2 separate regions of the Homo sapiens genome follow, and region 1 is linked to region 2. Evidence: promoter capture Hi-C in human tissues and cell types (Jung and others, 2019). All regions are on one chromosome and are shown on one strand. Each heading gives the region's core, a stretch centred on a gene start or on the middle of the fragment in contact. The rest is flanking DNA. Distances are from core to core; before and after follow the strand shown.

Region 1 (3,863 bases), core at 233-2,732, 1.0 Mb after region 2:
AGAGAAGAGCAGCTGTCGCTGGTATTAGGTGTTAGAATTCCAACACCTAATAGGTGAAAATTATATTAGGCTGATCATAAAACCATGTTGTTAACTTTTTAAAATTTAATGTCTCCCAAGGAATTTCACCCTAGTGGTACATCTTTTGGGAAATTAGAAAATGAAGAAATGCATACGTTCAGTGATCCATTTTAGAATTAGAAAATTCAAATTAGCATCTTATTTCATTCATATTTCCTGAAGAACCACTGGAAACAGTTATTTAATAGTGTGGCTAAATGTATATTCAGAGAAACACTTCCTGTATATTTGCACATTTATGTATATTTATGTCCTATTCCTGGAATAGATTTACAAGTTTTGTTTTTCAGAAAATTTCAGAATTTCTGGAATGTGCAGAAGTATTAACAGGTAACTTAGATTTGGAATACACTGTATTAGAGATAACTGGAAAAATGAGAGGCTTCCTACACTGGAAGGTCAAAGATCTTTCCTGGAGGGGAGTTAGGAATTTGCCTTTACTTACCATTATTCTGTTAAAAGAGATTATGAATAATGCAGTTTCACAAAAGGAATGGGACAATGGTGTAAGTAAACCTCCCCATCACGTTTTCAGTGGCTTTCCTTTGAGTCTTGAACGTTTTCCACTGGGTGTTATAGTCGAGAGTCCCCCACCTCCTGAGGAAGCAAGACCTGGCAAACCCAAGACGATGCGCTCTTACTTGTGTTGTTTGAAGGGGCCCTGCTGCCGCGCAGTTGTCATTAATGCCACCCTCACCTCCCAGGAACTGCACCACTAGGACGGACGACACACCGACGTAATGACCATAGTAAGACCCCATGTACGTGGCTAATGAGGCAGTGACCCGACGTGGCTCGGAAGCCCTGCTGGGGAGATCCCGCCCCGTCACCCCAGAGGCGCTCTCCGACCTGCAGCCCCCAGGGCTCCTGGCCCTTTCCCGTTTGCCACTGCGGCTTGTTGTCAAGAAATGGAACTTCAGAAAACCCCCAGATATACACTGCGTTAGGTAAGGATTTCATTCTAATCGAGTCCAATGTGACCCTGGCTTTCCCTCCCGTAGTTATGCATTCCTGTCTATGAGTGAGATGAAAAGAATGTCCACAGGCCAGCTTCTTTCAGAAGCGCCTAAGAGATGCGCATGTAAGGGGTGCCATGGAGCACCCGGGAAGGACCCAGGCCTGGGCAGGGAGGCGTTGGGGCCGGCTCTAGGGAGCAAAGCTGTCGGAGTCCAGGCCTCTATCACCCGACTGCTGACACTGCCCTCCCATCCCTGCTCTACAAGCGGGCGGTGGTGACTACACGAGGCGCCGAAGATGCTGTTGAGGGCCCTGGAGAAACTTCAGCAGAACAGGGCCTCTCCCCTTGCAGGCCGAGCCGGGGGCCCTGCGCCCTCCCCCTCCGCCCAGCTCGGCCAAGGGCGCATTTGCTGAGCGTCTGGCGGCCTCTACCGGAGCACCTCTGCAGAGGGCCGATCCTCCAGCCCAGAGACGACATGTGGCGCTCGGGCGAGGTGAGAGCGGGCGCGAGTGCGCCGGGGGCGCTGGGGGGCTCTGCGGCGGGCGGCGCGCGGCCCGGGGCGCGGCGCGGAGCGGAGCTGCAGGGCGGCGGCGGGAGCGCGGGGCGCAAGAGCCGCTCCGCCGGGAGTGCCGGGGAAGTTCGCGCTGGCAGCATGGGGCGGTGACGCCGCACCGGCCTTCCGCGCCTGCCAGCCGGGCGAGAGCAGGCGGAGGAGAAGGAGGATGCATCCTCACCGACGGCTCGCCTCCCGGGGCCGGCGCGCAGGGTGAGCCCTGGGCGCGCTGGGCCGGGGCAGTGGGGTAAGAGGACGCGAGCGGGGAAGAGGACCGGCCGCCCCGGCTCGGTCCGCACCCTTCTCCTCGGGGCGCCTGAGCGGCAGGCTGCGTGGCCGGGGAGGAGAGGTGCAGAGCAGGCGGGGCGCGCAGCCAGGCCAGAGCGCAAACTTTACCCTGGCGACTGCGGGGCTGAAGCCGGGCGCGGGAGAGAGCGGGGTCCGGGCGGCTCATCCCTGCCGGACGGGGCACCAGGGCGCGGTGACCGGTTGGGGGTGGGGGACACCCGTTGCCACCATCACGGGAGCCGGAGGGGTGAGATCGCCCACCTGGAAAGCCAGCGTCAGCCCCGGGGCTCTGAGGCGCGCGGCGTCCCGGCGCTGCTCGCGGGGTGGACTCGGACCCCGCGGGGGTGTCGCGCGCGTGTCGCGCGGGCTGCTCGAGGCCAGGGGACTTGGAGTCGCTGCTGCACCGCGCGCTCCCAGCCCAGGAGGAAGGCGCTGCCTGGCGGAGCGCTTGGCTCGTACCCGGGGCAGGAGCAGGGGAAGTCTGCGAAAGCCGGGAGCGAGCCGGGGAGGGCCGGGGAGCTGGAGACCCTCGGCGTGCCGCTGCGGACCGCGCGGGTGGCGACCGCGGGTGCCAGGGCGACCCAGGCTGCGGCTCCGCAGTGCAGCCCCCGCGCCCACCTGCCCTGGCGCGCCGGCCCTGGTGAGCCTCTGTGGGGGTCCGGAGGGTCGTGGGAGCGCAGCCTCTCCTGGGGGTCCCTGGCTCGGGGCTGAGGGGCGGCGGGAGGCGCCGCCCGGGTTTCCCGCATGCAGCGCCGCGTGCTCGCCGCCTGGCTCTGGCCCGGGCCCCGCGACGAGCCCCCCGGACGCGCCCAGGCGACCACCGCATGGCACCCTGCCCTTCTTGGCAGGAGTCGCAGAAGGCCTTCGCTTCCGAGGTGGAAGTACCTGTTGTGTCTCCCAATTCCGGAGTTTGCGGGGGATGGGGGTTGGGGGGGCTTCTTGGGAAAATGCTTCTTTTCGAAGCATACTGTTCGGATGCCTGTGAGCACCTATTTGCGTTATGCGCATACTGAGAAATGCGTGTTTTCAGGAAGGTTAGTCGTTGAGCCCAGGGACAATGTCTGCCTGGATCTCAAATACATTAATTAGGGTCCAGCATTGAGTGGAGAGACTTCCACAGATGCAGTGCTTAAGTTATGTAGTCACGGGGACCGAATGCCGGGAAAGTAGCCACACTCTTTTATAGGCAGTTGTCACAGTATTGTGATCCTGCAGAAAACCTGTTTCTTAAATGTGCTTTTCCCCACTTCTTTCCACGTACTTTCTCAGTGCCTTGCAGAGAGAGGAGTAGCTTGCTGGCTTTGAACGCGTGGCGTGGCAGATATTTCAGAAAGGTAAAATTACTACACTTGTGGATTTGACGGATACAAAATACAGTCGCTCAGATAACTACAGCGTTTATTTTAATAATTGGACTAATGGTTTATTTGATAACATGCTAAAAAACAAAACAGAGTATTTGAGTGGAAAACAACGAATTAGGGTGATTCTGCACCCTGAGTAGAAGTAAAAATAAGCCTCTTGTTACTTATTTTTATGCTCCAACTTACTGCCCAGTGAGGGTGATGGAAAATACCTGGTGTGCAGCTGTCCTGGGGAAGGACAGCGGGCTCCTTTCTTTGCAAATTGTTGTGATAGCAGTGTGATTTGATTCCAGGAACTGTGACACAACAGCATTGATGTTCACGTGCTTCCCCGCTTTGTGTGCTTTTCAGCTTCAAGAACAAGCTGGAGAAGGGAAGAGTTATTCCTCCATATTCACCTGCTTCAACTACTATTCTTATTGGGAATGGACAATGGAATGTTCTCTGGTTTTATCATGATCAAAAACCTCCTTCTCTTTTGTATTTCCATGAACTTATCCAGTCACTTTGGGTAAGTTACCATCTGTGCTTTTATTTTATGATGTTAGGGACACTGGTGCCTTTCAGACATGTTACGGGAGCAGCACATCCATTGAGCAAGTCCTCGCCTGCCACCATT
Region 2 (4,248 bases), core at 360-2,859:
TCAAGCAAGGTGAGGCAGGAGGTAACGATGGGCTGAGCTTTGGAGGAAAGCTAAGACGACCCACCTTTCTCAGGGACAGGGCCTTGAGGTGGTCCAGGCTGCTGGACACAGCTCCAAGATGGATCTACCAAGGGGCTCTCCTGGGGTGGAGAGCATAAAGGATGAAAAGGCCGCAGGCCTCTGGACAGGTCCGCCGGAGACTCTAAAACTCAGGGAGGGAAAAAGAGCAGGAGTGGTCCATCGCAGGGTCACCCCTGGTACTGCCCGTGGCAGGGCTCACAAACACCCCACAGCCTCTTTCCCCCAGGAAGCAGGTTAAGATGAAGAAAATTAGGCAGGCAGCTACCGGGCGGTGCCTGGCTCGCGGCTCATGGCTCACAGTGGAGGATGGACACTGCTGTTATTTCCCCTGCCCTGGTACCTGGGCCGTGCCAGACATATCAGCACTTGGCGGCAGTTTCACTTTGCTGCTGTCCTGAGCCGAGCTGTTAGCAGACTGAGCTTTACTGTCCTGTGCCGGCTGTTCAGAGACCACTGTGCCTGGCCGAAGACTGAGGCAGGGACTTCAGGCCAGGGGGCCAGGCTGGCTTTTCCTGCCTTTCACTTCAGGTGGGAGCGGCTGTGGATGAGGATGTCCAGCGGCCGTCGGTTTCTAGCCTTGGGATCATTCTGGCCCCGACACGGAGTGACAGGGGATCCCCACGCGTCCCCGCATCCAGGGCGCCCCTTTAGCTGCGGCGGAGGCACAGAGAGGCCTTGGCGGCGCTGTGGCTTCGGTCGGCACCGGGTCCCGCGCAGCCGGGCCCTCCACCCTGAGTGGAGCTGCCTTCTAAGCACCCAGCCCCTGCCAATCACTGTGCCCAACACCAAGTTCCCGGGGCGCCCTGCCCTGCGCCACCGCGCGCTCGCTCGCCCGCCCGCCCAACTCACCTGCTGAAGACCAGGCAGCCCAGGTGGTTGATCTTGTGGTCGGAGCGGTGGCGGCTGTAGTCCTCCCACAGGTCCCTGAAGGCCGTGATGGCCAGGATGAAGAGCACCGGCGCCAGTGCCAGGCCGGGCTGGAAGGCGTTCACCGCCGGCACGAAGTTGAGCAGCGCGATGAAGACAAAGTACACGTTGGCCGGGCGGTGGAACTGCTCGAACAGGTTCTTGGGCAGGAAGGACAGCAGCGTGTACTTGGTAGTCTTGAGCCGGTTGTCGGCCAGGTGCTGGGCACACCCGCGCCGCCGTCGCCGCTCGCCCTTGGCCGCGCCAGCCGCAGGGTCCTCGGCGCCCGGGGGCGGCAGCAGGTTGGAGCGCACCGTGCGCGTCCTGCCCTCTCGGCGCCTCCGCCGTCCCGGAGGCCCGGGCTCCTCGGTCCCCGCCGGCTCCCGCTCCATGGCCGCGTGTCGCCGCGCCCGGCTCCTCCGCCGCTCACGCCCGCCCGCGCCGGCCTCTTAGGTTATCATCACTCGCGGCCCGGGCGCGGCGGTGCGAGCTCCCCGCCTGCGGGACGCACGGAGACCGCGGTCAGCGCGCCGCCTGGCCGGCCCAGCGCGCCCAGCCCGCGCCCAGCCCCGTCCACTCCCGTCCAGCCCCGCCGCCCGGCCGCAGTCCCCAGGGCGCAAGCTGGGCGGGTGCCGCACAGAGCCCCCTTGTCCTCGCCGCCCGCCCCCGGCCCGGGTCGTTTCCGCCGCGGTGGCCACGGCCCCGCCCTCGTTCCGCGCCCGGACTGGGCCACGCCGGATAGCGGGAAACAAAAAAAGCCCGAGCTGGAAACTTCAGAGAGGTTTAGTTTCGTTTCCCAGAAGCATCAGTTCGGTCCCAAAACGCTGCAAACGCGCGCTGCCTGCAGTAGGAGAGAGGAAACCGCGAAGCGCGAGAAAAGGCGCCCCCGTCCCCAAGCAGCCCGCGCGCCCTTCCAGGGGCCAGACCTGCTCCATCCTGGACGGCGAAACGACCTCGGGAGACCCCGGTTAGGACCTTACTCCAGGGATCAACTGGAATCAAAATCCAAAGGATCCATGGCATCCAGTGCTCCAATTTTTAAGTCTTTTTTACGCAGGACCTCTGCTCCTGGGGAGCCCTGGGAAGGGCGATTCCGCGTTGCCTCTAAGAACTTCTTTCCTACCCCACTTCCCAGCCCCCACCACTTTCAGATTCCGTTGTTGGGCGAACTAGACCGTTTCCTTTCCACCATCATCATTACTGCCTTTCCTTCCTCTCCTAAATAAATTCTTTTTCTTTTTTCTGTTCTTTCTTCATGGAAAGGAGAAATATATCGCTATAGCAAAGACAGAATTTGGTTTGCAGGTATTTGAGTGTCTGTTTCCCTCCCTGGGAAATCATGAGGACCGAAACGCTCCTTGTGCGCTGTAGCTCTGAGGTGGCTGTCATGGCCCGGACGGCGGGGGAGGCGAGGATGGTTGTGGGGAGGCGAGGATGGTTGTGGGGAGGAGAGGGGAGCGTCAGGAGGGTGTCCCAGAAGTGTGGGGCGAAGGGCTCCCCTCCACATCATGGGGCATCCGAGAAGGGGTGGGAGAATAAGCACGGCATGGAAAAAGGAGCTGGGAGTCCCCCACGTCCGCAGTGAGACCCCACAGATGTTTCATGGCTGTGACTGTTTGCCTCCCACTCAAGAAGTACAGAGATGAGAAGCAGTTATTTCTTGCCCAGGAGGCCGTGGCTGGGCGGTTGGCCGTGGCCCCAGGCTCTTCCTGGGGGTGCCTGCTAACAAGGCACTGCCCTGGATGGACTCAAATCACGTCTTCGCCAGGACCCTGGCTTGGGGAGGCCCTCCCCTCCAGCACCCTGGCTTACCCGGCTCCAGTTATGACATTCTTACATCTCTGCCCAGTTTTGCCACCATCCACAATGTTGCCCAGAACCCAGTGTTAGAAGGTAGAGTGGTGACAGGTGTGAAGAAAATAATCCCATCCCCCAGTCACAGGGGTGGGCTTTTGACATGTAGAGGCCCAGATCAGGGAAAGGTTTGGCTGAAGTCTGCATTGTTGGGGAAAGGAGTCAGGTCTCACAGTCAACCAGCAGAAACCCAAACGGAGCATCAACTGCAAATGAAGGCCCACAGCGCCTGCAGTCTTGAGGCCTCACATCCCATGGCTCCGTGTTTTCCTCTACCAGCCCACCTGGTGACCCCCGAGGCCTTCGGCCTCCCTACACTTCGGCCTCCTGTCTTCACAGGCATCCCCGTGGACCCTTCGCCCAAAGTCTCCAGGGGTGTCCGCGCCTACCAGACTCCCAGCTTCAGCCAGTCCACACTGTTGCCAAAGTAATTACCGCCTCATTCCATTTGCTTACCCTGGAGCTTCCAGGAGTACTCCTGGTGCTTACAAAGCCAAATGCTGATTCCTCAGGCAGAGGTCCCTTGAGGCCCTGAGGGGAACCAGCTTGCTGATTTTCTTCAGCCCCTCCCTGGTTCAGGCCCAGCCCCAAGGTGAGAGGTCTCCTTATCCTTCTCAGAACAGTCCTTACTCATCCCATCCACATTCCGCTCTAAGGTTCCAAGATTCTGTGAGTCACAATGCTCCTCAAGTCTGGAATCTTTTTCCACCTGCTCTTCCCCAGTGCAAAGTCAGGATTTCCAGGAAGGCCTAGCTCAGCTCACCTCTGGAAAGGTCTCCAAGCTGTGTGATCTGGGGAATCGTGGAGGGGTTTTGAGCTCAGGTGTCTTCTGCCAGCTGGACTCTGAGACCCTGGCCTGCTGGGGCGAGGATGAGGCTCTGATGTGGTCTGGTCAACTCTGGGTTGGCCATCTGCACCACAGGGCTCTAACAAGGGCCTGCTATAGGCCATGAGAACCACTGTAAGTGTCCTTGTTCGGCAAATACTTACTCATCCCCTGCTGTATGCCCGGCAATGTTCCAGGCACAGGAATTCATCGGAGAGCTAGAGAGGACAAGATGTTGTCATGGAGCTGCAGCAACTGAACGAAAAACCATGAGAGCCCACGGAGGGCTTTGGAAGGGATGAGGGATGGCCTTTTCGAAGAGAGGCACTGGAGTTGAAACCTGAATGGGACAAGATCAGGTGGAAGAGGCTTCCAGACAGAGGGGGCAGCTCTGTCAAAAGGTCCCAAAGAAGGAGAAATCTCAATGTGTTTAAGAAACAGGTGGGGCTTCTGCCTCACACTCATTCTAAAACCTTCAACCCCACAGCTTCTGCTTTAGGCAATGGGGACACCTGGGAAACACAGTAAGTTTCTGCTCCCCGGAACACTAAGTCCTCACGTGGGAATCCCAACAAAGATGG

Evidence for each region. The method cuts DNA at HindIII sites, captures the fragments that hold promoters and counts their contacts. A contact is called where the count stands out against the background at its distance.
Region 1: the fragment with the promoter of GABRA5 here is called in contact with the fragment with the promoter of ATP10A in region 2 in 2 of the 25 tissues and cell types used here (spleen and thymus).

What each region holds. Positions count from the first base shown.
Region 1 is chr15:26,865,580-26,869,442 of GRCh38, forward strand. GABRA5 (gamma-aminobutyric acid type A receptor subunit alpha5) reads left to right here and starts at 1,483. Exons shown (of 11, transcript NM_000810.4): 1 at 1,483-1,532; 2 at 3,150-3,214; 3 at 3,596-3,755. The coding sequence starts at 3,670. The HindIII fragment of the contact is 20,920 bases long and covers 1-3,863 here.
Region 2 is chr15:25,861,718-25,865,965 of GRCh38, forward strand. It overlaps ATP10A (ATPase phospholipid transporting 10A (putative)), which reads right to left and starts at 1,610. Exons shown (of 21, transcript NM_024490.4): 1 at 931-1,610. The coding sequence starts at 1,379. It overlaps ATP10A-DT (ATP10A divergent transcript), which reads left to right and starts at 3,553. Exons shown (of 2, transcript NR_183988.1): 1 at 3,553-4,191. The HindIII fragment of the contact is 9,757 bases long and covers 1-4,248 here.